Linked DNA regions of Homo sapiens: region 2 is linked to region 1. The links are contacts of gene promoters, found by promoter capture Hi-C in human tissues and cell types (Jung and others, 2019). All regions are on one chromosome and are shown on one strand. Each heading gives the region's core, a stretch centred on a gene start or on the middle of the fragment in contact. The rest is flanking DNA. Distances are from core to core; before and after follow the strand shown. Region 1 holds the start of ALDH3B2 (aldehyde dehydrogenase 3 family member B2). Region 2 has its middle 17 kb from the start of CABP2.

Region 1 (4,143 bases), core at 671-3,170:
CCTCAGCCTCCCGAGTAGCTGGTATTATAGGCATGCGCCCCCATGCCCAGCTAATTTTTATAATTTTTAGTAGGGACAGGATTTCACCATGTTGGCCAGGCTGGTTTCAAACTCCTGTCCTCAAGTGATGCACCTGCCTCAGCCTCCTAAAGTGCTGGGATTACAGGCATGAGTCACCACGCCTGGCCACAAAATGAACTTTCTTTCTTTCTTTTCTTTTCTTTTCTTTTCTTTTTTTTTTTTTTTGAGACGGAGTCTCACTCTGTTGCCCAGGCTGGAGTGCAGTGGTGCGATCTCAGCTCACTGCAAACTCCGCCTCCCGGGTTCACGTCATTCTCCTGCCTCAGCCTCCCGAGTAGCTGGGACTACAGGTGCCCGCCACCACACCCAGCTTATTTTTTGTGTTTTTAGTAGAGACGGGGTTTCACCGTGCTAGCCAGGATGGTCTCGATCTCCTGACATCGTGATCCGCCCGCCTCGGCCTCCCAAAGTGCTGGGATTACAGGCAAAATAAACTTTATAAATTAACTGAGACCCGTCTCAGATTTTCTGGGTTTACACTGGGGACCTCTGGCTGCTCACCAGGCAGTTCCTGACTGGACCTGGGTCCCATAGGTGACCACCCCAGACTTGGCCAGCCCCCATGGAGCTCACAGTCTACACACGGAACAATGACACCGGAAACAATATCATTACAAACATGATCGGTGGGCCAGGGCTTCTTCCAGAGGTGGCCAGAGACCCACCCCTGGCTCTGACTGCTGCGGGGAAGCCGTAGGGGAGGGCCTCTTGGAGGGCAGGTGATCTGGACAGAGGGACCAACGTGTGCAAAAGCCCTGTGGGGGCAGATGCTGAGAAATAAGACACACAGGAAGGTGGAGGCCTGATGGGACCTGTCATATGGAGAGGGGACTCATTCCCTTGGCAGTGGCCATGCCTGGTGCAGGGCCCAGAAAGAAGTCAGAGCTGGCATCTGGGGCCAGGTAGCTGGCATGCACATCTCATCTGAGCCTCACAGCTATTATTATTACCCAGTTGGAAGGACAGGGAAACCGAGGCTCCCAGAGACGACTTGATTTGCCCTCCTCACAGCCTCAGTGCGAGGAGGGAGGCCCCCCAGCCCCTCTCCTCACACCAGCCTTGTGACACCATGTGCCAATGTGTGCCTCGTGCCTTTCACTGTCTTCTCAACATCTTCCTGCAGCTTCCAGACTTTCTAAATGCGAATGTAGTATTTCTAGAACCAGAAACAAGCAATGCATGTTGCTTTTAACATCTGAAACCAAAGATCCGACTTTCGCTTCAACTGCCAAGAATCTCTCTGCTTCCAATCCCCGATTCTCCGGCACCTCCTGATCACAGCCCTGGTGCCCCCGACCCAATCCTTGTCTGTCCACAGAGCTGCCTTCTCCTCTAACCTGGGAGCTCCTCAAAGGGAGGACGGGGTCTGTCCCCATCCCTGGGGCTCCTGGGGAACAGGCTTCATTTCTGTGGCTGCTTCCCAGGAGCCTGCCAAAGGGCAAAGTGAGGCTCAGAAGACACCAGCACCCACCTCCCTCTCCTGAGCAAGCCCCGTACCCATGGCCCCTGCAGCCATAGGCCCCTTGGTGGGCTTGCCCCCTGACCCACGGGCCATGGGCACACATCCCCTTCCCTCCATGCCCCTGGTTCCCACCAGTGTCCTTTACCCTGAGCTCCCTCTGCCCGCCCCTCACCCCTGTGGCCCCACATAACCCAGCGTGGGCTCTGCCCCTGGGTCCTTCGCTGCACCTCCACTCCCTTTCTTGGACATGCTGCCTCCAGATGCGCAGGCTCTGCTCCTACCCCCAGGCCTCAGCCCTGCTCTGCTGACTGCGATCCTCCCAGGAGACTGGCAGCTCCCAAACCAACTCCCGTGCCCACGCCTGGCAATGGGGTAATCAATGGGGTGATGCTCAGTGTTACCCAACAGGCGTGGGGCAGGGCTGCACCTCCCAATTCCCATGCCTACCCTTGTCTCACTGCCAGGACCTATAGCTGCTCGGTGTCTGCCCTGTTCTTCCAGGGCCCTGCCCCCAGGGACCACACTGCACAGCCGGCTTGGGAACAGGTTAGACAAGTCAAGGCTGTCTGAGGCTTTGCTCTGTGTTTCCTGGAATGGGCTAGCAGGGAGTTACCTGATCAGGAAAAAAGAACCCCAGGGGAAGGTCACAGGATGAAAATATCAGCAGGATCCTGGTGGCAAATGCTGCCTTCGCCAGGAAGTCCTCCCAGGCCCCAGCCACAGTGGTCCCATGCCCCCCATGGCCCCTCCTAGGGTCTCTATGCTAAATCTTCATCTCCCTCCTCTCCTGTCCTCACTCTTCAGGCTTCACAGGTCAAGATGAGCAACTGTGGCTCTATTTCCACTCTCAGTGTGCCCAGCTGGCATACTCAGGGCAGAGGAAGGGGCTCAGATCTTTGCAGAGAGACCCTTGATGGGCGACGGCACCTGTAGCTCTAGGATGGCGCATTGTTCATTGGTTTATTTATTTACTGTGCAACCGTGGGTAGGTTACTTAACGTCTCTGAGCCTTTCGGAAGTAACAATAACACCTAATTGCCATGGTTCTTGAGAGGGTCACAGAGGGAGACGTGAGAATGGAAAAGGCAGATCACAGCTCCTGGCACAAAATCAGTGCCCCTCAATGTTGCCCGCTAATGTTTCCACAAGTATTTGCTGAGCACCTTCTAGGTTCCAGGGAGCAGAATGAGCTCAGGTCCTGCCACTGTCCTTCATGGATGGCCTGACTCTGTCCCCACCCCACCTTCCCCCAAGCCTGAGACCAAGGACACGCCCTGCTGAGGGCTGTAGAGAGTCTCTTGGCAGAGTGTGCAGCCCTGTGGGCAGGAGGGACATCTGAGATAACCCTTGGTTGTGACTGGAGACAGCCCAGCGGAGGCCACAGCCTGAGACCAAGCCCTGGCCCTGGAATCTTCGGTAGCTAAAGATGTAAATGCCAATGTGACACCAGGAAGGGACCTCGGGATGGGGAAGGGAATACAGGGCAGAATGCTAAGGCCCATCTAAGAGCAGCAGATGGGTTATGGCCACTGGGGAGGCCCACTGCCTCCAAACCACTGAATTGTACACTGTAAATGGGTGAGTTGTATGGGATGTGAATGCTATCTCAATAAGCTGTTTTGTTTTGTTTTGTTAAACTGAACTGACAAGAAGCCTGAATAGACGTAAATAAATTAAAATATGCTCAACCTCAGTAGCAATTGTTAAAATGTAAAATAGGTCGGGTGCGGTGGCTCATGCCTGTAATCCCAGCACTTTGGGAGGCCGAAGCTGGTGGATCACTTGAGGTTAGGAGTTCCAGAACAGCCTGGCCAACATGGTGAAACCCTGTCTCTACTAAAAATACAAAAAATTAGCCAGGCGTGGTGGCATGTGCCTGTAATCCCAGCTACTCGGGAGGCTGAGGCAGGAGAATTGCTGGAACCTAGGAAGCAGAGGTTGCAGTGAGCTGAGAGCACACCATTGCACTCCAGCCTGGGCAACAAGAGAAAAATGAAATTATATCAGGCATGTTCTTAGACCACGGTGGAATAAAACTGGAAATCAACTCCAAAAAGAACCTTCAAAACCATGCAAATAACTGGAAATTAAATAACCTGCTCTTGAATGAGCATTGGGTCAAAAACAAAATCAAGATGGAAATTAAAAAATTCTTCAAACTGAATGACAACAGTGACACAACCTATCAAAACCTCTGGGATACAGCTAAGGCTGTGCTAAGAGGAAAGTTCATAGCCCTAAATGCCTACATCAAAAAGTCTGAAAGAGCACAGACAATCTAAGATCACACCTCAAGGAACAGAGGAACGAGAACAATCCAAACCCAAACCAAGCAGAAGAAAGGAAATAACCAAGATTAGAGCAGAACTAAATGAAATTGAAACAGAAAAAATATACAAAAGGTAAATGAAACAAAAACTTGTTCTTTGAAAAGATAAATAAAATTGATAGATCATTTGCAAGATTAACCAAGAAAAGAAGAGAGAAAATCCTAATAAACTCACTGAGAAATGAAACAGGAGATATTACAACTGACACCACTGAAATATAAAAGAGCATTCAAGGCTATGGTGAACACCTTTACACACATAAACTAGAAA
Region 2 (4,143 bases), core at 965-3,464, 130 kb before region 1:
ACTACAGGAGCCTGCCACTACGCCCGGCTAATTTTTTTGTATTTTTAGGCAGCAAAGACCACTGGTGGACACAGTGAATGACGGGGCGGAGGACCATCGTGGGCAGGCGCTGCAGCTGCCTTATCCACCAGGGCTCTGAGTGAGCCTGGGTGCCGGCTGGTGCTCTGGGACAATGTGGTCAGGGACAGGAGGTCACCCTGGTCAGTCTCACCACACACCTCCAACTGGAATCAGTCCTGTTCACAGGAGGTGGGCAAAGCCCAGTGTGTTCAGGAGCTGCCAGGCACCTGGAGCCTTTTGAGACCCTCTGACCCAGAACCAGGGATGACAGGCCTTCATTGTGGGCAACAAGGTGAGCGCTGGCTCCAGCCTCTCCCAGATCATTGTAGGTCCATTTCTTAGAAGGGCAAACTGAGGCCCAGGGTGGGCCAGTTCACTGCAGCAGAGACAGCCAGGGTTCTGGCTCCTGAAGCTGCTCTCTCCTGACCCAGCTCAAGCTCCCTCACACTCCCTGCCCTGCAGGTCTCCTTCACCGACCACAACCTGCTGGACTTGCTGCTGGCCCACCAGGTCCTGGTGAGGCAGGAGAATAGGGTGTGGAGGCAGGGAACCTAAGGCTGTTTCATGCCAACTTCCTAGAACTAAATTGAAAGGAAAACCCTAACTTTCCACACCTAAGTAACAAAAGGACCAGAGGCTACTCCATTTGACCTTTTCTGCACAGCAGATGCGAAATTGGCTGTCCCCAACAAATCAGACTAGTTGTGGGTGGAGTCTTCGTTTGCAACTTGGTAATTTCACTCCAGCCTATGAATGGTTGCTGTCCACAAACAATCAGACTGATTGTGGGTGGAGTCTTCGTTTGCATAGAAGCATAACTTTGTAACTTCACCCTAGCAAACATCTGATCCAATCAGATGTTGGCACAGGAGTGTGACCTTTGTAAGTTCACTTCAGCCTCTGATTGGCTGTTTTCCGCAACCAATCAGATTGCAGGCTACCACTTCATTTACATGAGGTGAGCATGAAGTGACCAATGGGAAACTTCTAGGGGGTATTTGGACCCAAGAAGATTCTGTATCCAGGCCCTTGAGCTGCTGCTGGGCCCACTCCCACACTGTGGAGTGTACTTTCGTTTTCGATAAATCCCTGCTTTTAGGCCGGGTGTGGTGGCTCACACCTGTAATCCCAGCACTCTGGGAGGCCGAGGTGGGTGGATCACCTGAGGTCAGGAGTTCAAGACCAGCCTGGCCAACATGGTGAAACCCTGTCTCTACTGAAAATACAAAAAAAAAAAAAAAAAAAAAAAATTAGCTGAGTGTGGTGGCACACGCCTATGATCCCAGCTACTTGGGAGGCTGAAGCACAAGAATCACTTGAACTTGGGAGGCAGAGGTTGCAGTTAGCAGAGATCACACCACTGCACTCCAGCCTGGGTGACAGAGCAAGACTCCGTCTCAAAAAAAACAAAAAACAAAAAACTGCTTTCATTCTTTTGTTGCTTCATTCTTTCTTTGCTTTGCTGGGTGTTTTGTCCAATTCTTGGTTCAAAACACCATGAACCTGGACAACTTGCAGTCACAACCCTCTACCAGGGACACTGGTGCCCGGCTATCTGGGTGCCCTCCTCCTGCTCTCAGCCTACGTGGCACGCCTCAGCGCCCAGCCTAAGCTCGAGGCCTCCCTGGCTTCCCCTGAGTATGGGAACGACCCCATCTTTGGAGGCTACAAGATGTGAGCCCACTTGGCCTCCCCATGGGAGCAGGGTTGCCCTTGGGAATCAATAAAAGCAATGAGAGGAAAGCTGTGCTGAGGTCATTGAGGGGCTGGGTGGGCATAAGGGACCTTCTACCCCATCCCAGGCTGCTGGGAATGACCCAGGCATAGGCAGGACCAGAGGCTACAGATGACCCTCCCAGGGGTTGAGTGGACAGGGGCGCTGGTGACCTTGGCAGAGGCCTTGTCTGCTGGATGAAGGAGTGGGAGTTGACTCCCAGGGCACTAGGGAGCCACTGCAGGCTTTTGAACAGGGATGGTGACTTTTAGGAATCAGAGCCTGTGATAGCTCAGGAAGCCTTGGGCACCACCTAACTCAACACCTAATAGACAGGGAAACTGAGGCCCAGAGAGAGGACTGGACTGCCTAGGTTCACTAAGCAAGTGGGTAGATGGGTCGAGTTGGTGTCCTGGGTGCTAAGCTCCCAGGTTGGAGGCCTGGCTGCCCCTCAAAGGAGCGTTTGCCTGACTGAGATGCTTAGCAGAGGCTCCATGGGGAGGGGTCTTATGCACCTTGGGTTTGAGGGGCTGACTGGCAGTTCTGTTTCTGGTGAAGGAGAGCTGACCCCTTTTGGGAGGCATGGTCCAGGAACGACCCCCCCAGTCCCCAAGAGGAAAGTGCTGCACACCCATCATCTCAGTGAAATCCCGAAGCTTCCACAGCCCAGAAGACAGACTGTTGCCTGAGGGGGGAGCTGTTCCAGTGGGTCTTGTAACCCTGCCCCAAGGAGCCTGCCAGGCAGGGCCCAGGGCCTGCAGCCTGTGGCCTGTGAGCCTCCTCAGTGCCCCGAGCATTCAGGAGGGCGTGTTCAGGTTCCAGCCTCGCCTGGGCCAGGCCTTGGAGTATGCTTGGGATGCCCTGGTGCCTGAGGGCAGGCAGCCTTACCAGTGGCTTGGCATGGGAAGGGCTGGACTCCTTGGACCACAGTGGTTCACTGTGTAGGCAGGGAAGACAGTGGCCGTGGTAGGCCACAGAGCAGGCCTAGGGGACATTCGAGCATCCCGCAGGTTCCAGAGCAGCAGGAGGAGAGGAGTTGCTCTTTTCAAAGCTTCCCGCAGGAGTTGGATGCACCGGCTCACACTTGCAGTCCCAGCTACTCAGAGGCTGAGGTGGGAGGATTGCTTGAGCCCAGGAGTTAAAGACTGCAGTGAACTATGATTGCACCGCTAAACTCCAGCCTGGGCAAAAGAGCGAGACCCCATCTCTAAAAACATTTTTTATTTTATTTTTTGAGACAGTCTTACTCTATCACCCAGGCTGGAGTGCAGTGGCATGATCTCAGCTCACTGCAACCTCCACCTCCTGGATTCAAGTGATCCTCATGCCTCAGCCTCCCAAGTAGCTGGGATTACAGGCGCACGCCACCACACCTGGCTAATTTTTGCATTTTTAGAAGAGACGGGGTTTGGCCATGGTGGCCAGGCTGACCTCGAACTCCTGACCTCAAGTGATCCACCCGCCTTGGCCTCCCAAAATGCTGGAATTACAGGTGTGAGCCACTGTGACTGTATAAAAATATTTTTAAAAGAAAGCTTCCTTCAGACAATCACTTTCACACTCTTCAGGGTGACTGGGCTGGACATTTTGGCTGTGTAGCTCTGAGACTGCAAGAAGGTGGATGGAGAGGCTCCCTGTGGCCAGGAAAAGGGACTGGGCCCCTGTCTGGGTACCTCAGGACTGGCATGAAGCCACATGTGTGAGCTGGTGCTGCAAGGCGTGGGAGTGATCAGATGGTCATTGGTGAGAGGCTGGGAGCCCCTCTAGCTGTAAAGTTGACAGATGACACCCAGGGCATGTGGTCGGGACTCCCTAGCAGCATATGGGAGGGAGGAGGGTAAGCTTCCTCCAGGCAGTGCCCCAAGCACTTGACATCTATCAACTCATTTAATTGGCAGAAAAAATCCACCCCGTGGATGCTATTATTATCTCCATTTTATTTTTTTAATTTTATATTTTTTGAGACGGAGTCTTGCTCTGTCACCCAGGCTGGAGTGCAGTGGCGTGATCTTGGCTCACTGCAACCTCCTCCTGAATTCAAGCGATTCTCCTGCCTAGGCCTCCAGAGCAGCTGGAATTACAGGTGCCCACCACCACACCCGGCTAAGTTTTGTATTTTTAGTAGAGATGGGGTTTCACTATTTTGGCCAGGCTGGTCTCCAACTCATGACCTCAAGTGATCCGCCTGCTTTGGCCTCCCAAAGTACTTGGATTACAGGGGTGAGTTACCGTGCCCGACCCATTATCTCCATTTTAGAGATGAGGAAACAGAGACACAGAGAGGTAAAGTAACTGCCAAAGTTCACATAGCTGGTAAGAGGCTGACCCAGGAATTGAATTAAAGCTTTCTGGCTCCACGCCTGTGCTTG

What was found. Contacts are between HindIII fragments. The study calls those that stand out against the background at their distance.
Region 2: a contact is called between a fragment that was not itself captured here and the fragment with the promoter of ALDH3B2 in region 1, in 3 of the 25 tissues and cell types used here (lymphoblastoid cells, pancreas and spleen).

What each region holds. Positions count from the first base shown.
Region 1 is chr11:67,672,703-67,676,845 of GRCh38, forward strand. It overlaps ALDH3B2 (aldehyde dehydrogenase 3 family member B2), which reads right to left and starts at 1,921. Exons shown (of 10, transcript NM_001393402.2): 1 at 1,734-1,921. The HindIII fragment of the contact is 24,145 bases long and covers 1-4,143 here.
Region 2 is chr11:67,538,853-67,542,995 of GRCh38, forward strand. No RefSeq gene overlaps it. Among named protein-coding and RNA genes, the nearest start is that of CABP2, 17 kb to the left of the region's middle. The HindIII fragment of the contact is 3,306 bases long and covers 562-3,867 here.